Linked DNA regions of Homo sapiens: regions 1, 2 and 4 are each linked to region 3. Evidence: promoter capture Hi-C in 16 types of primary human blood cells and fetal thymus (Javierre and others, 2016). All regions are on one chromosome and are shown on one strand. The core of a region is centred on a gene start or on the middle of the fragment in contact, and the rest is flanking DNA. Distances in the headings are between cores, read along the strand shown. Region 1 has its middle 37 kb from the start of GLIS3. Region 2 holds the start of GLIS3 (GLIS family zinc finger 3). Region 3 holds the start of RFX3 (regulatory factor X3). Region 4 overlaps PUM3 (pumilio RNA binding family member 3).

Region 1 (5,878 bases), core at 3,298-5,797, 810 kb after region 3:
CTTCCTGAAACAATTGTAGTGCAAATGCATGTTCATTAATCAGCAAGTCCAAGCTAGGGCAGACTTTTCTGGCTCTGTTTGCAGTGCCAGGGCTCTTGCTCCAGCGTTGTCATGGGGAAGTTATTGTTGTCCTCCTGGCAACAGGTTACCTAGGTGAACGCCAAACAGCCCAACCTGGCCTAGTGAGCACTGGGCCTGTTCAGCCACTGTCCCCATGCTGCTTTGCCTGTCTTCTCCTTATACTCCCTCAATCCACACTACTGCCCTTATGAGTCACAGCATTCATTCTCACACACAAAGGTGCTACAGAAGGCCACTTACAGCGAACCTGGGGCTTGTCCAAGGCCATTTTGTACTCTGACCTTTAAAAGCATGCCCAGCCATGGGCAGTCATGCCTGCTCTCTTCAACCCACAACTACAATAAGAGCAGCTCTCAGAAGAGAAATCATTTCCACCTTTTTTTTTTTTTTTTTTTTTTGAAACGGAGTCTTGCTCTGTCACCCAGGCTGGAGTGCAGTGGTGTGATCTCGGCTCACCGCAAGCTCCACCTCCCGGGTTCATGCCATTCTCCTGCCTCAGCCTCCCGAGTAGCTGGGACTACAGGCGCCCGCCACTATACCTGGCTAATTTTTTGTGTTTTTAGTGGAGACGAGGTTTCACCATGTTAGCCAGGATGGTCTTGATCTCCTGACCTCGTGATCCACCCGCCTTGGCATCCCAAAGTGCTGGGATTACAGGCATGAGCCACCGTACCTGGCCCCATTTCCACTCATTTTTACTGAGCATCTTAGTGCCATAATTGAAACAAATTAGAAGCATAAGAAATAACTCCAGTGACGATCAAAGTCTATACCACAAAGTGAAATGAAGCCCTAAGCCAATTAACCTGTGAAATTGATCAATTAATTGTAGACAGCTAAACCAAATGGTTCAGTTAAAGTAAATCCTCAGTTGCTCGTAAACTTGCCAGATATAGCAAATAAAAAGATCTGGTAATGCTACTCCATAAAGGGCTTCTGCTCTAATCATCTGAATTATCACTTCTGCTCCACGTGCTTTCCTGTGCAAAGCCTTCAAGTGTGAAAAACAGGCAGAATTCAGTGGTTCTGGTGTCTATCTCCCTCACCAGCCCTGGGGATGGCGTTAACCTAGCTTACACCTGGCATCTCACCTGTAGTACCCTAAGTAGCCCGGGGTTAAACAAGGGCACTTTCAACACGGCTTAGGGTTTTAGTTTAAACCTGAAACATCAGGATCTATTTAGACCTCTCTTAGAGGCATCCATCCCTTTCAAGAAGCCTCAGAACACACTTGGCATCCCCTGGGTCCCTTGCCCTACTCTGAATTGCCCCAGGGTCCTTCCCCCATTGAACCAGATTTAACAGGATAAGGTGATTCTTCCCTCATTCCAGCCTTGGTGTTTGTATCCAGTTCCAAGAAATTCAGTTAGTTAATACAGAGCTATGACAACCTAAGGTAAAAATTTGCGGACTTCGGTAAATTTACTTGGTGACAGGTGATGAAGAAGAAAGGGCAGGGAGCAAGCAGTTAGAAAACCTGAGTTTGGAGATGATGTGCTGTGAGATCTTGAGTAAGTCATTACACCTCTGTGGGCCTCCATTTCCCAATCTGTTTGTTACCCATAAGCCACATGGCATGATATTAAAGTAGGGTCACAATAGCAGTAGAAAGCAATAGTTCTCTGGCTCTAGCCCACTGCCAACTCTTCTCCCTGACCTAATCTTGGGAGTCTCCAAAAAGCATCTCATGTGGATTCAAAATCAGTCCTCTCCATGGCCACATGTGATATATGGGTTTCCTCTTCTTTAGCTCTGAATACTTTCAGAGATCTCTATGGCTAAGCTATCTATCCACTAAGCCCCTGGTGCTGCTGTAACTAGCATTAAAGTTGCTCCACAGGGCCAAAGCCACCAGGCCAGGCCAGGTCACCAATACTCTGGGTGGCAGTTCTGGGTCAGGGACCTGGATCCCTTAGGATCATTGCTACAGTTTCTGGTGCCAGACCCTGAGGGCACTGATACATGTGTCGGGGTGTTGATATCACCCTTTCTCTTGGCATCCTCACATGAGCCCTGAAACTGAATATATAGTTTCCGTTTTATGGAAAAGGAAAGTAAGACTCAGGAAGATAAAACAACAAAACCAAGACTGCAAAACCAGTAAGCGACAGAACTAGGGTTTAGACCCAGATCCACCTAACTCCAAACCTTGCCATTCCTCAAAACTATCACTTATGGGAAACGTGCGATGTTCACTGCTCCAGAGCTCATGTCCCAAGTCCTATACAATTTGTATATTCCTTTAGTTGGCAAGTTTTTATGATAGTAGAGAGATGTTCATACTAATTACACTACAGATCTGCTAAAAAGATCTATGAAAAGAGGTCTACAAAGTTATCTGTCAATTCTACATGAATACTCATATATTCTGATAAGGAAGACACTAACTCACTAAATTCCAAGAGAAAAATAGATCAAGTAAATGGACAATTTCCAGAGGACAGAATATAAATGACTAATAAATATTTAAAAATCTAATATTACTAGTAAATGTTTTTAAATGCACTAAAATGAGATACTACTTTTAACCTATCAAATTAGGAAAAGAAAATACTCAGAGTTGGTAGTGTCATTGGCTTCTAGTGCACAAACAAATTGGTACAACTTTTCCCGAAAGTAATTTGGCAACACATAGAATCATTAAAAGTGCAAATCATTTAACCCCAAAACTCTCATTCTGGGACACAGTCCTGAGGAAATAATCAGAAGCTCAGAAAAATACTTTATCTACAAAGACCTTCACCAAAGTGTTAATTATTGTAACAAAGCTGGAAATAACATAAATGTCTAACAATCAGAAAATAGTTAATTAAATACAGCCATATGATTAGATAGTATGCAGCTATTAAAGTGATATGGTCAAAAAATTAATGACATAGGAAATGTTCATTTGAAAATAAAGATACAAAATCGTACGGACAGTATTTTCATACTTTTGATTTAAACGAATGAAGGCAATATTTTGCAATGATTCTGAACATTTCTATGTACTCTACAATGATGTATATTTCCTTTATAATCAAAAAAATATATCTAACAAACAAAAAGCTTCAGGCTCCTTCCGGTCATTTTTTCTGACATGCTGAGTTGGACAAGGGCCTCAAGCATCACTGAAGTAAAAGAACATGGAGGATCCCTTTGGGCCAATATCTGACTCATTCTACCATATCACAAGGCCAGACAAAAGCTGATTAATGTTCATAATAATGATCACAATAGTAGCATAATAGTAGAGGTGGTAGCAACCAGTTTTGTTTACTCAGTACCAGGCTCCACTATCCATCTTTCAGATATGTTGTATCATTTAATCCTCACAAAACTCTATGAGGCAACTATTACCCCCATTTGAAAGATGAAGAAACTGGGGTTCAAAGAGATGAAAATATTTGCCCCAAACCACACAGCTTATGTGACCAAGCAGGAGCTAGGACCCAGATCTGATTTCCCAGGATGGTTTGCTCTTTCTCTAATGTCTAACTGGTAAGATTGGCAAGGCTGTGTGTGTGTGTGTGTGTGTGTGTGTGTGTGTGTGTGTTTAGTTTTGAAATGCAAAAACTGTATTTGTCCATAGCATGACTTCTTTTCACAGGAGTCAGGACACCTGATTCTAATCCTATCGCTTCTCCTGACTAGACAAGTTTCCTTGAACAAGGCATATCCCATTGAGATTTTGCTGCTGCTATGTGTTGGCAGTGTTGGACTAGATGAGTTTCCTTTAAGCTTAGCTTGTTAAAACACAGCTTTCAGGTCTTTCTGTAGACCTACTGAATGAGACTTTCTGGTAACAAAATTATACGTATATATAGAGAGATAGATGGATTTCTATTATATATGTGTGTACACACACACACACACACACATACACACACACACACACACACAATTTTTTAAACAAGCTCCCTGGATTATTCTTATTCAGGATGAGAATTCAGCTCAGGACTGGTATTTGGGAGTCACCATACTAGACAACCTATGAGGTACTGTTCATATCTACTAGTCAATGACTGTATAGGGCCCCAAACTTGAAGTCAAGATGTGGCTACCACTGAATTTCAAATAGGTCTGGAAGAATCTAAAGGGCATGTGACTTGTTCACAGGCATTGTTCTGCATGAAGTTTGGGGACAGACCCAGGGAGAAAAAGGAACTGGGGGAAAATAGTGTAAGTACTGGAGATTGGTTCCTGTAGCCAGCCCCATGGGAGAAGGAGCTGCAAGTAGAAAGTAGAGGAACCAAAAATATAGCCTCATATTGTATCACCTAAGGAGCCTGGAAAAAGCACTGTTGCTTGGGTCCCAGCTCCAGAGATCCTTATTTAATTGGTTTGGGGTATGTGCCTGAGTCTTGGGATTTTTTTTAAAGCTCCCCAAGTGATTCCATTTTGAAGCTAAGATTGAGATTCTGCATTAACACACAAGGACACAAAGCCTTCAAAATGAGACGGCTTTATGTGTTACAGGCTTACCCTTAAAACTATGTTGAAAAGCGGCATTTCAAGGACCCTCCTGGTGAGTTCATGAAGCAAAATAATCATGTTCAAAACAATTGAGACTGTCCATACAACACTACCTCGATATGTTTGGGAGGATAAACTCAACACCTCAGTCATGATTTAGTGGCTTGGCTTATATATTTGGTGGCATAGATAGAATTCTGTCCCCAGGTGTGTAAGTCACATGAAGCCAGTCCTCAATGACTGGATTTGTCTTCTTCACTGAAGTGAATTGATCTGTTGTTTTGTCACTATGTAGCTAAAGCCAGTGGGAGGGTGCCAGTTATTTGGAGAAAATGTTTCATTTTGAAGTACCAAAGACAGCCGATGAATTGTGTTCATGAAATACATGCTTCACTCTACTTTTTAATTTGCTCCTGTTTAAGTTAACTGAGAGTTTCGTCTTTATTTTTAAAGAATGACATTTATATAGACGTTCAAACTGCCAATCTGTTACATAAACAGCCTTGTTTTTTGAAGGGCTGGCGCCGCCTAGAGGCCAAATAGGTGCAGAGGTTTGGATTGCTAACCGGAAAGAACCTCTCCAACCTGTTGCTTCTGGTCCTTCTGTGATCCGTCTCTGTTGTGTGTATTTAGGGTCAGGTAAAGCTAATCAGACTTTTCATTGAGCAAAGTTTCCCAAGCAAGGGTGGAGATGCCACAGTGACATTTCAAAGCCAGATAACAATGCAATGATGGGATTTGGGAAGTTTGGTACAAAAGAAGCTTCTCACTGGGATCAAAACGTGCCCAGAGAACCAGAAACTGTAGGGGGAGGGAAGGGGGAGGGGAGGGGAGGGGGAGGGGGGAGGGGGAGGGGAGGGGAGGGGGTAGGGGAGGGGTGGGGGAGGGGAGGGGGAGGGAAAGGAAAGGAAAGGAAAAGAAAAGAGACAGAAAGGTAAAGCAAGTTTTTGGTGGGTAGTTTCCTAGAGTGAACTTAAGAGCAAACATTCTCTCATTTGGTATTGACCAAGACACAAAGACTAGGGAGAAGTCAACATTTAATACCAGCTGACAAGCGGCTTTGCTTCTTGCTCATCAGTGAATTCACCATGTCCTCACGGCTTGGCTTAGCATGAGGTTGATATTCCCCTAGAATCTCTGGATCTATTCCCTTTTTCTACAGCCTTCTCCATACTTTTAATATTTTCTTTCTTACATGGCCAACTTTTAATTACCACAGGGGAACAGAGTTAGTATGTATTTTTTAAATCTCTGAATAATCCAAAACGTCTGTACCCAGATAGAAGTTTAGGAATTACAAATCAAATGAGAAAAAAAAAAAAAAGTATGTCATTTTCCTTTA
Region 2 (6,301 bases), core at 112-2,611, 770 kb after region 3:
AGTGAGTCGGGGGCCGAAAGGGTGCTGCGGCTGGGAAGCCCGGGCGCCGGGGACCTGCGCGCGCTGCCCGGCCTGGCCGGAGCCTGTAGCCCGGGGGCGCCACGGCCGGGCTCGCAGTCCCCCCACGCCGGCCCCCCGGTCCCCGCCGAGCCAGTGTCCTCACCCTGTGGTTTCCTTTCGCTTCTCGCCTCCCAAACACCTCCAGCAAGTCGGAGGGCGCGAACGCGGAGCCAGAAACCCTTCCCCAAAGTTTCTCCCGCCAGGTACCTAATTGAATCATCCATAGGATGACAAATCAGCCAGGGCCAAGATTTCCAGACACTTGAGTGACTTCCCGGTCCCCGAGGTGACTTGTCAGCTCCAGTGAGTAACTTGGAACTGTCGCTCGGGGCAAGGTGTGTGTCTAGGAGAGAGCCGGCGGCTCACTCACGCTTTCCAGAGAGCGACCCGGGCCGACTTCAAAATACACACAGGGTCATTTATAGGGACTGGAGCCGCGCGCAGGACAACGTCTCCGAGACTGAGACATTTTCCAAACAGTGCTGACATTTTGTCGGGCCCCATAAAAAATGTAAACGCGAGGTGACGAACCCGGCGGGGAGGGTTCGTGTCTGGCTGTGTCTGCGTCCTGGCGGCGTGGGAGGTTATAGTTCCAGACCTGGCGGCTGCGGATCGCCGGGCCGGTACCCGCGAGGAGTGTAGGTACCCTCAGCCCGACCACCTCCCGCAATCATGGGGACACCGGCTTGGATGAGACACAGGCGTGGAAAACAGCCTTCGTGAAACTCCACAAACACGTGGAACTTGAAAAGACAACTACAGCCCCGCGTGTGCGCGAGAGACCTCACGTCACCCCATCAGTTCCCACTTCGCCAAAGTTTCCCTTCAGTGGGGACTCCAGAGTGGTGCGCCCCATGCCCGTGCGTCCTGTAACGTGCCCTGATTGTGTACCCCTCTGCCCGCTCTACTTGAAATGAAAACACAAAAACTGTTCCGAATTAGCGCAACTTTAAAGCCCCGTTATCTGTCTTCTACACTGGGCGCTCTTAGGCCACTGACAGAAACATGGTTTGAACCCTAATTGTTGCTATCAGTCTCAGTCAGCGCAGGTCTCTCAGTGACCTGTGACGCCGGGAGTTGAGGTGCGCGTATCCTTAAACCCGCGCGAACGCCACCGGCTCAGCGTAGAAAACTATTTGTAATCCCTAGTTTGCGTCTCTGAGCTTTAACTCCCCCACACTCTCAAGCGCCCGGTTTCTCCTCGTCTCTCGCCTGCGAGCAAAGTTCCTATGGCATCCACTTACCAGGTAACCGGGATTTCCACAACAAAGCCCGGCGTGCGGGTCCCTTCCCCCGGCCGGCCAGCGCGAGTGACAGCGGGCGGCCGGCGCTGGCGAGGAGTAACTTGGGGCTCCAGCCCTTCAGAGCGCTCCGCGGGCTGTGCCTCCTTCGGAAATGAAAACCCCCATCCAAACGGGGGGACGGAGCGCGGAAACCCGGCCCAAGTGCCGTGTGTGCGCGCGCGTCTGCGAGGGCAGCGGCGGCAGGGGGAGGAGGAGGCAGAGGCGGGGTGGCTGGACCCTCGGCATCAGCTCATTCTCCCCTGCTACACACATACACACACAAATAATGTTTCTAAAAAGTTCAGTTGCGACTTTGTGCCTCGCCTGTCCTGTTCATCCTCGTCCTGGGCCGGGGAATGCTTCTGGGGGCCGACCCCGGGATGCTGGCTAATTGCTGCCGGCGGGTTCCGTCGCCGGTGTGACCCTGGACGGCGCGGACGGCGTACAGGGGGTCCCGGGAGGGGCAGTGGCCGCGGCACTCGCCGCCGGTGCCCGTGCGCGCCGCGCTCTGGGCTGCCCGGGCGGCGCAGTGTGGACGCGGCTGCAGGGAGAGGGGAAGGGGGAAGAGGGAGGGAGGAAGGCAGCCGGGCGAGGAGTGTGGATGTGTGTGCGGCCGCGAGGGCCGGCCTGTAGCCAGCTGCTTCCTGAGTGTGAGCGCCGGAGGGGGAGGGGGAAGAGTGGGGGCGGGCTCGCGGGTCACTAGGCTGGCCAATTCGAAGGCCGAGCTTGTGTCTCCCTCTTGACGCATTCACACACACACACACACACACACACACACACACACACACTCCCCGTGCGCCAGAAGTCGAGGAACTCCAGAACAGGGTAACAGCAGGGAGACACTTCGCCTTCTTCCTGGCCTTATTTGTTAAACTGACTTATTTTAACATGAAAAAGTGTTAGTGTTTAGACAGGATTTGATGTCAGGTCATAAAAAAATAAACAAACAACCAAAAAAATCCGGTAGTAATACGGAGAGAATAACACAGTGAAAAATGGCAAAAGGGTTGCTTTGAAATATCGGATCGGATGCACATGACAGCTTCGAAACTGGATAGGTGAAGCACTAAGGAAGGCTTTGGCATCCTTTCCAAGTATAGGCAGGGAAGAGAGGAAGGTGATGGAAGTGTTAGAAGGGTATAAAATTCTGAACACAGGCTGTTAAGAATGGAGGTATATTCCCTGCGTATGTTACGTCTATAAAGTGGCACTTTATCCTTATGAATTCAACATCCTCAGCCTCATACCCCACCTAAGCTCTGACTCGCCACCGCTTCTGCTTGTGTTGACCAGAGCCCTCAAAAGGTTGTTACAAGAAAGTCTGCTCCTAGTAGTTCATCACATGTATTGCCACAGATGCAAGGACTTCCATCTTGGGAATCTAGGTATGTAATGCACACAATATCCTCCAGGTAGGCCTTTCTGCAGTTGACAGTATTATTCACCATCATGAATGAAATGAGTGAGGATGCCACCAGACACTTAGAATTTCACAAGTCCTTATATTCTATTCTACTGTTACCACTCCAATATAAATTAGCAATCAGGTAGTAGATGCTTTGATCAAGACAGAAGTCCTCAAGGACACAAATGACTTACCCCAGAAAGCCAAAACTAAAAGACTATTGGCAGTTTTCATTTATCTAATTTCAGTGGGAATACTACTAGGCTTGGTCTGTATCCATGATATTAACATAACCAAAAGAAGCCTGGTTTCCACAGTACTTTTTCTTTTCTTTTCCTTCACCTTGGGACACAAACTCATCAGAATATTTGTCAGCAGAAGTAGGGGATGAAAAATAGTAAGAGGTCAGGATATGTCATTCTGTCAGTTTTCCAGTTTCTCTCTGTTCATCTCTTTTAAATACAAGTATTCAAGCCCAAGATGGCAATAGATGGGCTCAACCACACGTAAGAAAAGAAAATACTCATAAAATGAAGCATGCAGCAACATCACAAAAACAAAGAAACCAAGTGGTGGAAATTGCCATGACTATTCCATTGTGGCTAGTTATTGCAACATGCCTGACATTCACATAAAAACTCTTCCTCATTAACTCCAGCCTTAAGGAACAGAGCAAGATGGCAACACTAACCCTTCAATGCATCATGGGAACTTCTGTTCATCAGATTCTTGTGCTGTACAACTGCTTCCCAGGAGCAAGACAAGCCTGGGTGGAGACTGCAAAAAACCTTTCCAATGTCCCTCAAATATCATTTTAAATACAATGGTTTTGATGCATAGAATGGTATCCTAGGGGCTTGCAGAAGCTTCTAAAACTTCCCAAATGATGGGAACAGCTTAGCTGGAAGAGAAAAAAATATAGTGCTACACCCAACTTTAATCAATAGCTCATGGAAAAAAACACTGGGAAAGTTAGGAGTCATCAACCTGGAGATCCCCAAAATCTCTTCATTTATAAGAGCCCAAGAGTGGGAATGTCATTTTATTTAGGTGTGATTTTCATGAACCTCTAACATTCCTAAAATATTTACCACTGAAGAGGTATAGTGCTTTGGTTGAATTTTTTTCTTTTTTTTTTTTTCTGGCCAAGAATGTAGATCTGCAATGTTCTTATATTCCATGGGTTATAGTAAAAATGCAGTTGTTCTTGTACCAGTACAACCCTGGAATGACTCAGAATGAGATCTGTACCTCTTCTGGGCTGAATTGGTCAGCAGGGGTGAGGGAGGGTGGTAATGAGAGACAGTGAGAAAGGAAATCATGTAGTTCCAAAATGATACTCTCCCTTACCCATGAGCTCTCCATCGTGCTTAGGAATCATACTCTGGCAGCCCTTCAGCCAGATAGGTGGGAACTGCAGCCCAGTCAGTATCTTCCCTCTCTAGAGACCAGTGTTGTATGTGCCTCAACCGCTGACTCAGGGCAGCTGACTCAGCAGACAGGCCCCTGCTGCCAGCTCCAGTCCAGTTCTCATTCATCAGAGAAATATTCAGTGAGTACACACTCTGTCCAAGTATTGGGACTAAAGGAATTAACACTTGTAGGCATTGTATATGGGAGGATATTACAGAAAACTTTTTGCCCAGTGTCTTAGTTGTAGCAAACCCTCAAGAAATGGGGACTCTTTGCATATATTACCTCATCTAATTCTCAAATCAAATGTATGATGTGGCTATGAATAATCTCCTACTTAGAAGCAAAGAAGTTGAAGCTCAGTAAACAGTTAAAGAGAGTCAGAGACAGAGCCAAGTATGCCAGTTTAGAAGCCCCAAGTTCAATCAACATTACTGTACTACAGAATAATTGTGCATGCTCTTTGAATGTGTATAAAACATATTGCAGGTGTATAAAGTGCAAAGCATCTTGTGGTCAGTGTTAGATGAGCACAATGAAGTTTGTAGGGAGTGTGGAGGAGGCAGGAATAATTTCCTGCAATGTGACATGGAGTAGCTTGGCTGTTTGAGCTGGACTTCAAAGAATGAGTAGAGAAGTGATAAGCAAAGGAGACCATTTCAAGTATAGGAATCAGCATCAAAAGGGGCACAGAAGGCATAAGTCCTGCATAGCAAGCAGCTCACTCAAAGCTAGAGTACAAAATAGGAACATCCACTGTCTCACAGCAATGAAACTCTCCCGAAGGAACATCCTGACAGCAAAACTTCAGAACTGCTATTTGAGTCACCCTGAGTGCTCTGACAGTAAACCACTTACAAACTTGCAAAGAACTATGATCAGATTCCTCCTCCCACAAAGTGTCCGTGAAAAGAAACAAATTTGAACCCCAAAATACAGATAAGTTGAGCTAATAGCACCAGTGATAGTATGCCTAGCTATTAAAACACAGACACACACACACACACACACACGAGCTGGCAACAGTCCAGTTACGTAGAAATGCAGTGGAAAAAGTTAGTGTTTGCCAACTTTAAGGGGGGAACTAAATGTGTAAAATGGAAAATTTCCATTTTACTTTCCTGAGTAGTACAAATAGTGGAATGCAGCAAATTTCACATTATGTTATCAGTGTGTGATATACTAAGAAAACTTAAGCTGATTTTTCTACTAATTTGTCACAAGTATGTTCAGCCCAAACTCTTCGGCTCACATACATGTCAGTGATGTAATTTTTTAAAAAATTCTTATTTACACATATCGCATTCACAACATCATACCTCTTTTCCTTTCTAAAGTCAAAACTGTAAATCAGAGTCTAAAATGTGTCAGACCAAATGCAACTGACCAAAATTTCAAATATTTCACTCCATACAATATCTCTCAATCTTGTCTAATTGGTGAAATGTTTCTTCCTTTTTTATACAAACCAAGCTGAGATGTATCTAAAATTCAGAGAAAGGTTGATGATGTATTCCTTGACATATTACTTAGGTATATCTACAAAGAGCTTACCATAACAAACATAAATTCATAGATAAATACAATATTCCGCAGGCAGCCAGTTATTCTTTCACCATTTAACATCTATACTGGCCAACTATATGTGATGTTGTAAAATTAATTATCTAATCACAATGCCATCTTATCTATAACTACCTTCTATAAATGCCTCTTAATGACCATAACTTACTTTTCTTCATATGCCTTTCATGGCCTAGCAATAGTACTGGGCACTAGTAAGTAACTAATGCTAATCTGATAAATGGATTAATTAATGAGAGAATGAAAGAATGGTTTCTTCACCTTCAGAGATGATAAATGACACAACTCATTGTTATGTATGTGTATAATCATTTCAGTGTTCCAAAAGAGACTAACAGATGCTCTTTGAATGTGTGCAAACCACACTGCAAGTATACAAAGTACAAGGCGTCTTGTTATCAATGTCAGATGAGCACAGTTAGTGTGTAGGGAGTGTGAAGGAGGCAGGAATAATTTCCTACAATGTGATATGAAGTAGCTTTCTGTACCCCTAGGCTTTTTATTATAAACTGAAGATTTAAATATTGCTTCCTATTTCTTGAGGAAGAAAATTCAA
Region 3 (5,947 bases), core at 1,534-4,033:
TTAGTTTCAAAGCATGATCACTTTTACAAATTTCTATTAGTATAAAAACTGAAAACACAAGAGAGTATCAATACATAACATAGTCCCTTCTAGGAAAAATATTAAGAAAGAATAAAGTAAATGCTAAGTATCTATCCTTGTGTTTAATTTTTAAATTTACCATTTCTCAGTGTTTCTGATTATTTAATCAATTCCACAGCAGCTCTAATAGCAATTTTATCCCACATATATGCTTCAAAAAATGGAAAAGTAATGAAATTCAATTTAAGTTCTGCTCTCAAATCAACTTGTGAATGAAAATCTAAATCACAGAAAACCTGAGCTATACATGAGTGAAATGCCTCAAAAAAAGTTCTCAGACACTGTAAATAAAATATTAAACCATAACATTATAGTATATAATTTACTTAACTGAAAACCTATTATGTAAATGGCATAAGGTCTGAAACTGTCCCAAGACAGCAAAACTCCTATTAACTTCAGAGAGAGTTTATAGGACCCAGGAGCTTCACCATCCAAAAGTGTTCAGGCATTTGACACTCATCTGAACAGAAAAAAAAATACAAGTTAGTATTAGAGATTTGCATGGAACCCAGTTTGGGGAGAGGAGGAATAATTATAAACAAATCTGAGTGCTCTGAGAAAGACTTCTTTCAGAACAAAATATCGTCTTCATTTAAAATAGCAATCACAAGGAAATGAATTGAAAAAGTTTTTTTAAAATCCCAACTCTTATTTTACAAAATATTAGCCTTAATAGCATTATAATTACCCACCCTGCTCGTTGACAATCTCAAGAATAATTAGTACTGTCACATTATTCACAAGCTGCTGTGTCAGTTAAATCAATATATGTTTGCTGTTAGAAAGAAGACTATTTGAATAAGCATTTTAAAACTGTAAATTTAAAACTTCAATATGTGCAACTACAATAGTACATTATATTTGTTTTAGCACACATTCATTATCAAAACTCTACTGATAAATCTATTAACTAAAAGTTAAGCTGAAAAAAATGAACAAATTTAGGGGATCTGTAAAACTGGGTTAACGTTAACCAAGAACCTACTATATAAGGACTAATAAGTATTCAAATCTACAGAGAAAAATAATTTTTAAAAGAAATACTTAAAAAGGAAAAAGTTCTCTCTCCTGAGCAGGTTCAAGTCACTGTCCAAAGAAAATCAAAAAGTAAATAAAAAGAATATGTTAAGTACACACATGCCTAGATCTTAACCAGAAAGAAAGTGAAATATACACACGTTTCAAGTTGAGAACCTTCATACATTCTTTATGAACTTGACTTGAATTTCAACTCTCAAAGGAAAATGAGGAGATTAAAAAAAAAAAAACTCTTAAAGTACCATAACTGTCACAAATAACACTGTGAACTGAGTTCTCACAAAGCTTCCTTGTGTCCCTTCCCTGTTCATCACAAAGTCTCATAATCACAATGAAAATTGTTAACACTCTACTGCGGGGAAGGAGGATCATCAAAGTGAAACGGAACCTCACTACTCCCCCTCCCACCTCCACATGAAGGATAAAGCACTGTCAATAACTACTAACCCAAGTATCACAGATGCCCTGCATCCGGTTTAAATCACAAGCACACACACACACACACACACACACACACACACACACACACACACACACACCAAAGAAGAGAGAGGAGACAGACTTTAAAAAAGAAAAACATCTTTCCCAGTACAGCAAAGAGGGCCCAACGAACAGGCCCCAGGTTTCAATATGTGTGCAAGGGGTGTGTGGGGGGGGGGAGAAAGAGGGGGAGGGAAGAGTGCTGAATGGATGTTAAGACTGTTTGCCGCACAAAGAAAATACAGTTTTAAAAAGAAAAAAGAAAACCATGAAGCTGATGATGGTGAAAGAAGAGCAGCCCATTCAGCACCAGGCAAAGAGGGGCAAAAATGAAGGGAATGGGCGGTGGGAAAAGTTCACCAACGTATGAGGATTAAAAATAACAAAACCCATAACAAGGCCCCACAAGTGAACAACAACAACAACAAAACACCACCTCTTGGGTCCCCCCCTTGCACACTGTTGTCTATTTCGGCTTTGAAAGAAGCAGGAAACAGCAGCGTTGGAAAAGAAGAAAATTAAAGAAAGAACAAATTCTTATCTCTTCACCTGACCCTCCTCCTCAGACCAGACCTAAGGGAAAGATCCAGCATCCGCATCGGAAAACTGTGGCTCCCTCTCCCGCTCGGCTCGCAGCCCCCCAAGCTCCCGCTCCATCCCTGAAGTGCGGCCGGCGCAGGGCCGGGGCCGGCGGGCGGCGCGGCGCCCACACCCCCGACCCAGCCGCGGCGCGCAGGGTCCATTGTAAACAAGCCCGGGGAACAGAGCCCCTCGGCGGCGGCGCCGCAGCGGCAGCCCCCGTGTCAGGAGTGAGACCCCAGCACAGCCACACTCGGCTCGCACACACGAACACACACACGCACGGACACACGCGTTCACACGCAGCCACACGCTCCCACACACATGTAGAGACCGAAGAATATTCACCTTGGCTGTGGATTATTGTGGTGTTGTTGGTGGGTGATGGAGATGGTGGTGGTGGGGAGGAGGAGGAGGAAGAGGAGGAGGAGGAGGAGAGGAGTAGTTGTTGTTGATGGGTAACAGTCGCCAGGACTACGGTGACTATGGCGCTTGATTCACAAGGCAACGGTTGCTATAACTCACAAAAGAGAGAGAGAGAGGGAGAGAGAGAGAGAGCGAGAGGGAGAGGGAGACACTCGCACGGGGAGGGGTGGGGGAGGGAAGAGGGGAGGAGGCGGGCCCGGCCAAGCCGCCGGAAGGGGAGGGCGCAGCGCTGTGACTGACGGCCCCCAAACCCGGGTGGGGTGGCGGGGCGGCGGGGTGACGGGGCACGAGGCCGGGATTCCACCGCAGGACTCCGAAGAGGTGCGCCTATGCTTGGCTGGGGCTGAGGTCACCAAGAGTCCTCTCGGAGGGACGTTACTACACGCGCTGGCGAGGCCCAGGAGTCGTGGTGCGAGGGGTACTATCTGTGAAACGAGGGCTGCCTGTCCCAGCAGCCAGCTTTGTACAGAGACGTCCCGGAGCCACGAGAGAGTAACGGCTAACCCGGGGGAGGGGGTGGCGAGGGTGATTCCAGGCACTTTGTGAAGAAACGAGCTATGGCGAGGGAAGAATCCACTTTGAAGAGCGGCCCCCGCCCTGCCCGATACGTTACTTCCGGGGCGGGGCGGGCAGAGGGGCCCGGATGTGCCGCCGCTTTTTAGTTTCTGAGGCGCCGGCGGTGTTCCTGGTAGCGTCAGCCTCCTGGCTTTTCCTTTTCCTGGACGCTTCAGGGCTCCGCGGCCTGCGCTAGACTGGAGGGTCCGCGTCACTCTCGCCCTCCTGCTTTCCGCGCTCTCACCCGCTCCCGCCTCCTGAGGGCACGACTTGTGGAGGAGCGCGGGCGGCGGGGCGTGAGCGAGCTGCCTCTGCCGCCATCTTAGAGAAGGCGAGCGTGGGGTGTGCGTGGGCGCGAGTCGGCCTCCCGCGGTGCCGCCGCAGCGTGGCGCGGAGAGGTGAGGTCCAAGCGTGTCCGGCCCTCACTCCATAACGAAAAAGCGAGGTCATCACTCCCTATCTACAAGGGATGGGAGTAAGTGCCTGTAGAGAGCAAGAAATTGCCCTGCCCGGAGGCTGAGAAAGCGCATTTGGCGGTTCCCCTCGACGGAAGGCGTAGAGGGGCGGGGTAGCTTACACCTGCCTGCGATACCATCCTGTTAGTTTCTAGTTCTGTTAGTTTCAGCCCTTAAGTGCTCACCCCTCTTTAAAGACCGAACTGGGAGTTGAGCTCAAGCCCGGATCCTGTTACCTGCCGTGCTCTCATCCCCCGTTACTCAGCCTACTGTAGCTGAGGGTCTTGCTGTTTGTGGCTGTATTGAGATAGACGAATGGCTTCCGTCTGTGTTGAATGTTGTTAACACAACCTGCCATCTCAAACACCCGTTGATAAGGCACAGCCTGTAATGCCTCATGGTTCAAACAGACTCCTCCAATTCTCTGCAGACTCGAGTCCAGCAGGCACATGCCCCCAGGCCCTGCCAATACCCAAAATCTCCCAACATTTGCCGCTAAGCTGCTTAACCAGGACAATGACATAGTAGAAGTAGAGCCTTAGGAAGTCAGTTCTCCTCTTGAGGCTTAATTTTTGCACCTGCAAGTAAGGGATTTGGGCCGGCATGCGTTCACCAGCGCTAAAATAATACTGAGCTCATTCTGTGTCCCAGAACTGGTGCTAAGTGTTTTACATACATTATCTCATGTAATCCCAACAACACCAGTGTTAGGTAATATTCGCATTTGAGGAAAAACAGGCCGAGAGTCCTAAAAGTCGGTGGTTTTAGTTTATGGCTGCGTGCCATAGAATACAAGGTTACCTTGTTTTAGGAACCAGCTACTTTGGGTACGTTTTTAAAAGTAATATTGTTGCCTTTGATAATCTCATGAGTTAGAGATGTTCTTACAATAATAATGTGTTGCAGTAGTGAACAGTGGTGAGCCTAGTGCTAAAGCTAAAAGGTTTCCTGACCCACTGTGGTAGTAAGGGCTTCTAGTCAGACAAATGATTGTGTGGTGACCAGTGTGGGTCCCATTTGACATACAGATGGGAAATGAGGTATACGTTCCAGCTTTATGAAAACTGGTAGTCGTTATGAATATTCTCTTTATTATATTTACTGATAAAGTCCTCATTCCTATAATGGTGTGTAGGGCTGTATGTTCACACTACATGGCTCTCTGAATAGCTTTGTTTTTTTAAATTCCATTGTCTGTTATAGTTTGCCTGTCCCGTCTTTCATTGTCAGCTGTTGCTTTTTATTTTTGTCAGTGAACATAGTTCTATTATCCTTACCGCCCTTTTAATTTATTGCTCTTAATCTGCAGGCAAGAAAACCACATAGTGAACCTTGTGCAAAACTGTATCTCAAGAGTATAAATAGGTACTTCGAGGGACTATTAAAAAATAAGTGCAACCCTTGTGCTAGGACATTATAGAATCAGTTTTAAGCTGCTTAAATTTTTTTTTTTTTTTTTTTTTTTTTTTTTTGCCTTACAGATTTGGTCTTTTCCAGAGTTAGGAATAGATAAATTTCCTGAAGTTAATTCTTGAAAATTTAGAATTTAGAATATTTTCCCATGTTTTAGGATACTTGATGATGATACAATTCTAACCATATTGAGGTTAATATTTGAAATGTTAGTGTTACTGCCTGATAGGGTTTGGCTTTGTGTCCCCACCCAACTCTCATGTGAAATCGTAATCCGAAAGTGTTGAAGGAGGGGCCCTGTGGGAGATGATTGGATCCTGGGGGCAGTTTCTGATGGTTTAGCACCATCCCACTAGTGCTGTTTCAAGAGTGACTTCTCACGAGATCTGCTTGTTTAAAAATATTTACCACTACCCCTCTCTCACCTGCCACAATGTGAAGAAAGTCCTTGTACCCTTCGCCTTCCGCCATAATGGTAAGTTTCCGTGAGACCTCCCAGTCATGCTTCCTGTTAAGCCTGCAGAACTGTGAGTCAGTTAAACCTCTTTTCTTCATAAATTACCCAGTCTCCGGCAGTTCTTTATAGCAGTGTGAAAAGGTACAAATACACCACCACACTGAATCAGATGACCAAGATACCAGTTCAAGCTATAGAATCGAAAATACGGATTTTATATGCATGTATTGTTTAATACTGTAATTAGTTACAAAAGAACCCAGAAACCTTTTAACCCATAGTTATTGCTTGTAGGATTTTTTTTAGCCATTTTTTAAAGCTGCATAGATGCATCTTCACATATGTTGCATGTATGTTTCAGAAATAAATTATTTGCTAAGAAGTCACAGAAAAGACCCAGTATTGGACCACTCTAACAGTTATCACCTATTATAGTGCAAAACACACTGTGTGATCAATA
Region 4 (5,592 bases), core at 3,044-5,543, 680 kb before region 3:
TAACTCCATGGCTAAGGTAATTCAGAAAAGGGCTAAGAAATAAGAAACTCTAAGCACCAGAGGAAAATTGTGAGCATGAAAGATGCTTTGTTGTTTATTTAAGCCACCTACCTGTCCCAAAATGTTACCTGCCAAGGAATAAGAATGTGAGGTTTCTAACGCACCTCCAGAGTCCCTGTGCACAATCGTTCAGGCACTAGTTCAGGCATGAACGAACCAGTACTTACCATCGCTTCTACCATCTGGCTGGAATTTTCTCTTCTTGTTGAATTTATTTGCCGGCTGGAATTTGTTCTTTGGTGATTTGTCCCCTTGCTGCTTATTCTTGAACTGCTTTACACCCTTTTTCCCAAGTTTTGTGATACTTTTCTCAAAGTTCCTAGATGTGACTTTAGGTCCACCTTCTTTAGCAACTTTCCTTGTTGGAAATGTCTTTGAAGAACCAGAATCTAGTGACAATAATAATTATAAGTTCAATGATTCTGGGCCCAAATCTCTTTTATCTATTGGATTATATCCATTACAGAAAATTATACTTTTTAATCCCAATACCATGTCTTACTCTCAAATATGCAACATATAGCCTTTTGAGTAGAACTGGATTTAAACAATCAAAACAAAAATAAAAAATTCTTTCCTTGATTATAAAACCACCTAGAGAGTAGAGAAATGTAAAATAAAAGCTACCCATGATTCTACCACTAAAGATAAACACTGGTGTCAGTTTGGTATGTTTCTCTAGTTTTAAGCATATAGCAGAGCTATTATTTATATACCTTTGTATTCTGCTTTAATGATGGTCTACACAGAATTTTCAAGAGTTCAATAACAAAAGAAGTCTTAAGAAATGACTTCTTGAACATTCTTGAAATTTGGAAAGTATATCATAAGGACATCTAAAATGTTAATTTTAAAATTTTCTAGTTTTAAGAAAATTTTAAAGCCTATATTAAAATTATTTATCAAAAACTTTTGATCAAGAAGGCTTACAAATTAGTACCTAACAAATGAGATGCAAACAGTAATGGCTAACATTAAGGAAACATTAATCATTTGTATAGTCCCTTGACTTTTCTGTTTTACAATACTGACACCTGATGGAATAATAAAGACATCACCATTATAAATTCTGAACCTAAACGTATTTGGCTTATGAGCAGTATGTATTAAACAGTCCTAATTTATCAAATGTTAAAATAAAATGTATGGTGAACTAGTGTGAATAAAATGAGGCAACAGCAGCAACAACTGAGATAAGGAGTCTTTCATGAATAAGGCATTCCTCAATCATTCTTGCAATTTCTTAAGTGTCTAAATGTCATGAGCAACATGTTAACTCATACACAATAACACATACTTCTTCCTACTATTTTAATCCTAATCCTAGCCAATGAATACAGATTGAAATTTACTACATGCCCTCCCATCCCCCAATTATAACAGCCAAACACCCACATGGGAAGCATATCTTACCACTATTTTTATGAAATCTGTTTTTTTCTTGTGCTGTCTTTGTACTCTTTCCTGTGAATTGCTTTTTCCCTTTAACTTCCATCGTAGCAACTCTGGAAAACCAAAACCAAAACCAAAAACAATCACTGCAGTTCTCTTCATCAAATAAGAGCTGTTTCATAGTCATTGCCACATTTAGTCCTTCAGTCTACAAATACAATACAAATCAGCCAGATATAGAATGGACAAGTACTTAAATCCAGCAATTTTGCAATCACTGACTCAAATTTTAAAACTGAAAATGAACAAGGTATCAATAAAAAAACTAAGAACAACACACACCCTGGCCAGTGTTTGATATCTCTGGAGGCATCACTTCACTTCCACAATAGTACTGGCTAAAAATAGACCACTATTGACACTAAGTATAATAAGCATCAGAGTTTGCATTTTGTAACCTGGGAAGACTAGGGGATGAATAACTGACAAAATTATCGCTTGATTTCTTGGAGCCTAAAAAGCCAGGAACAAACAATAGGCTGCATGTACCACTACATGCATTTAATATAAGAAAATAAAGGATTATCTGAAAGATTCCTATGCAATCCAACACAGCTAAAACAAAGATTAGCATCCAGTGTTTAATCTGTGATTGTTTTAGACGCAGCCAAGCAATTGGCAGTGAACTCCAAAATAAGATGTTGAAATAGTTAATATTTCATTGAAAGGAATCTGTCTAATAGGCGCTTTATAGGCTACTGAGACACCATGGTGCACAGGATAAACAAGTTATAACCCCTCACCTACCCAAGGTCCCTGAAAGCAGCAGAACAGATCAAGAGAAAAAGCCATTTGGCTCATTTCTCCACTTTCCAAAGTTGGACGATCAACTCATTTGAAAGCTGGCTGTAAACAACAGATGTTAGGGATCCCTAGACAACACCAGATATTTCTAGATTAGAATTGCCCATTCAAGAACTAATTTCTCAGGATATTACCATAAGAGAAAAGAAGGGTTCTGGGATAAAATATATTTGGGAAACAGTAAGTTAAATGACAAGAATCAGCCCGTAAGAAAAGGCTTTTCAGATTCTTTAATTTGCTAATATATACAATCAATTCTCAAGCAAAGGCTAAAGGATGCAGGATTTTCCAACTCCAGTTGAACCACTTTTTCCTGGAACATCATAAGGGAACAGCAGACTTCCAAGGAGTACTCTGGAAAGTGCTGTTCTAATCTAGACTTTTCTAATGATTTTGAAAAATGGACAGTCCCTGAATTACTCAGCTTCCTCAGGGCATTTAGAACTGAAGGGTCACATTATTACTTGGCTATGGCCATCATAACCATACCTGCATCTCTCAGCTCTTCTACACCTGTAGTTTTCTAAGAATCCATTCATTTACATGTTTTCTCTGTATGTTTGTTCTAATTTTTATATTGAAATAATTTTAGCTTTACAAAAGAGTTGAAAAGATACACAGTTCACATATACCCTTTCCCCAGCTTCCCCTAATGTTAACATACAGTTAACTAAGCTACAGAGTTGAGTTGGAGTTTACCAGTTTTTCCACTAATATCCTCTTTCTGTACCAGGATACACTGAATCTGGCCATCAAGTCTCCTTTGTATTTTGTAGAATATTCCTCATTTGGGGTTTGCCTGATGTTTTCTCATGATTAGGCTAAGGCTACACATTTTTTGGAAGACTACCAGAGGTCAAGCTTTCTTCTGGTAGTACTCTATCAAGAGGTACATGACATTAACATGACTTATTACTGTTTATGTTAACCGTGTTCACTTGGTCAAAGTAGTGTTTTCCAGGTTTCTCCACTGTGAAGTTGCCACTTTAACCTTTCCATCTTTATTAGATCCAAACCACCAAGTCCAGCCCAAAGTCAGAGGAAAATTAAGCTCCACTTCCCAGAAGGAGGGGTACTAAAGAATCCAGGCATACGTTAAACTACCACAGCAATTAATAAACATTTTAGACAAGATGTTTGGAGAATATGTAGACATCCTATGTCCTCCTAAGTTTTACCTGCTAACTTTAGCATTTGTCGGTGGATATCGCCTGCAGCAATTACTGCATTTAAATGGTGATCTTCTATTTCTCTTATTACTTTTGCCTTTGTTATTCTCAACTTTTCTGTAGGGAAGACTTGTCCCATCTTTTCCATCTATTTACTTGTATCATATAGTCTCAGATATTTATTTCATTCCTTGGTTATAATCCAATACCACTGTTATTTTGTTGCTCAAATAATGCTAGCTCCAGCCAGGGGGAAGTTTCTCAGGTTGCTTCTGTGTCCTTTTGACGCGGCCCAACTGTTTTGTTTTGCTTTTAAAGCACATCCTTATTTCCTGGCACTGGCTCCAGGTTCCTTCTGTATTTTCCTTAACCTAGCCCTGAAATCAGCCACTTCTCCAAGGAATCCTGGTTCCTTTCATTGAGAATGGTATTTAAAAACCAAGATCTGAGTGCTAGGCGCACTTGTTGTCACTGAGGTGTCCCTGTTTCTATGTCCTTTCGGCAGACAGATTCAGGAAACACATATATGTATATTAACTTATGCATATGCACATACCTATATTTATTTTTATATCTATTACAATAACTTGAAGCTCATACTGATGTTTCCAAATCTAATCAAGCACCACATATTTTCCTCCAGGCATCTCCTCTTGCTCATTTGTAACTTCCTTCTCTGACAGTGAGCAACCTGCTTCCCACCATCTACAATTTATTTATACACATATTCCACCCTACTATACATGCATAGTTTCAGAATTGCTAACCTGTACCCCGTGAGAAATAAATTTACAATGACAGTACAGTGTTGACGTACAATTCTTTTTTGTATCCATTCAAAATACTTTTCCAAAGTTACTTAGAGGCTTGCATGGTGGCTCACACCTGTAATCCCAGCACTTTGGGAGGCTGAGGCAGGTGGATTACCTGAGGTCAGGAGTTCAAGACCAAACCCCATCTCTACTAAAAATACAAAATTTAGCTGGGCATGGTGGTGTTGCAAACATGTAATCCCAGCTACTCAGGGGGCTGAGGCAGGAAAATCACCTGAACCCAGGAGGCAGAGGCTGCAGCGAGCTGAGATTGTGCCACTACACTCCAGCCTGGGCAACAGAGTGAGACTCTATTTCAAATGTTAAACTACCATAGCAATTAATAAACATTTCAGACAAGATGTTTGGAGAATATATGGACATCCTACCTCCTCTTAAGTTTTACTTGCTAACTTTAGCATTCAAGTCAGTGTATTCTGCCTGCAGCAATTACTGCTGCAGGCCAAAAAAAAAAAAAAAAGGTTCTTAGATCAGCCCTTCGGCCCCTCACCCTCTTTAGTGAAGTTACATGTTTATAATATAGTTTAACTGATTTGTCACAGCCTGCATTCCATCCCCAGAAATGCTGGCAGATTTATTAAATGTGCATATAGTCAAGTTTACTCTTTCTGGTGTATAATTCCACGGGCTTCAACAAATGGCTAAGACTCATGCATCCACTACCACAGTATCTTACAGAAAAGTCCTGTCACTCTAAAAAGTCCCCTGGTACAGCTCCTTTGTATTCAACTCCTTCCCTCTTTCCTGACTGCCAATGATTAGGTTTTCACTCCTGTTTTGTCTTTTCCAGAATGGCATTCTTATACATGGAATCATACAATATGTAACTTTTTGAGTCTTGCTTTTTGCACTGGGCAAAATGCAATTTGCTTTGCTTGGGAACCCTGTACCTTCGTAATGAATCATCACATTCAATAGTGTCTCTTGGAATTCGCCCCCCTTTTTCCTTTCCCTCTATTACCCCATTCAGGCTCCTGTTACCTCTTGCTCAGTTTTGTTTAGATCCTATCTGCTTTGATCCACTTTCCGCTGCCTGATTAACCTTCCAGTAGCACACCTATTTCATGTCATTTCCATGCTCCAATAGCTTCAAAGCTTTCCCACTGCCTTCAGGAAAAAGTTCCAACTCAGGCATTCACAGCCATTCAAAATGTGGTCTTAATTCACCCCACTCATCACCACCACACAGGAGCCACTATTCTTATCAGAATAGTGAAGTTTAAAGCCATTCTCTCTACCAACACAATTTCTACCCATCCTTCAAATTCAGTTTA

What was found. Contacts are between HindIII fragments. The CHiCAGO score rates a contact against its expected background, and 5 or more counts as called.
Region 1: a fragment that was not itself captured here is called in contact with the fragment with the promoter of RFX3 in region 3 in 5 of 17 cell types (naive CD4 T cells, naive CD8 T cells, total CD8 T cells and 2 more); the score reaches 11.6 in naive CD4 T cells.
Region 2: a fragment that was not itself captured here is called in contact with the fragment with the promoter of RFX3 in region 3 in 2 of 17 cell types (M0 macrophages and naive CD8 T cells); the score reaches 5.6 in M0 macrophages.
Region 4: a fragment that was not itself captured here is called in contact with the fragment with the promoter of RFX3 in region 3 in 1 of 17 cell types (fetal thymus); the score reaches 6.8 in fetal thymus.

Annotation. Positions count from the first base shown.
Region 1 is chr9:4,334,448-4,340,325 of GRCh38, forward strand. It overlaps a transcript of GLIS3 not described here. Among named protein-coding and RNA genes, the nearest start is that of GLIS3, 37 kb to the left of the region's middle. RefSeq lists an enhancer at 4,942-5,236. The HindIII fragment of the contact is 1,497 bases long and covers 3,800-5,296 here.
Region 2 is chr9:4,298,117-4,304,417 of GRCh38, forward strand. GLIS3 (GLIS family zinc finger 3) reads right to left here and starts at 1,952. Exons shown (of 11, transcript NM_001042413.2): 1 at 1,305-1,952. GLIS3-AS2 (GLIS3 antisense RNA 2) reads left to right here and starts at 1,185. Exons shown (of 4, transcript NR_186824.1): 1 at 1,185-1,307. The HindIII fragment of the contact is 4,501 bases long and covers 1-3,612 here.
Region 3 is chr9:3,523,218-3,529,164 of GRCh38, forward strand. It overlaps RFX3 (regulatory factor X3), which reads right to left and starts at 2,784. Exons shown (of 17, transcript NM_001282116.2): 1 at 2,530-2,784. LOC124902110 (a long non-coding RNA gene) reads left to right here and starts at 3,268. Exons shown (of 8, transcript XR_007061398.1): 1 at 3,268-3,560. RefSeq lists enhancers at 1,925-2,541, 3,119-3,168, 3,429-3,728 and silencers at 2,229-2,318, 2,749-2,938. The HindIII fragment of the contact is 14,491 bases long and covers 1,406-5,947 here.
Region 4 is chr9:2,836,953-2,842,544 of GRCh38, forward strand. It overlaps PUM3 (pumilio RNA binding family member 3), which reads right to left. Exons shown (of 18, transcript NM_014878.5): 2 at 1,474-1,565; 3 at 228-449. The coding sequence starts at 1,555. Among named protein-coding and RNA genes, the nearest start is that of PUM3, 4.3 kb to the right of the region's middle. The HindIII fragment of the contact is 2,236 bases long and covers 3,176-5,411 here.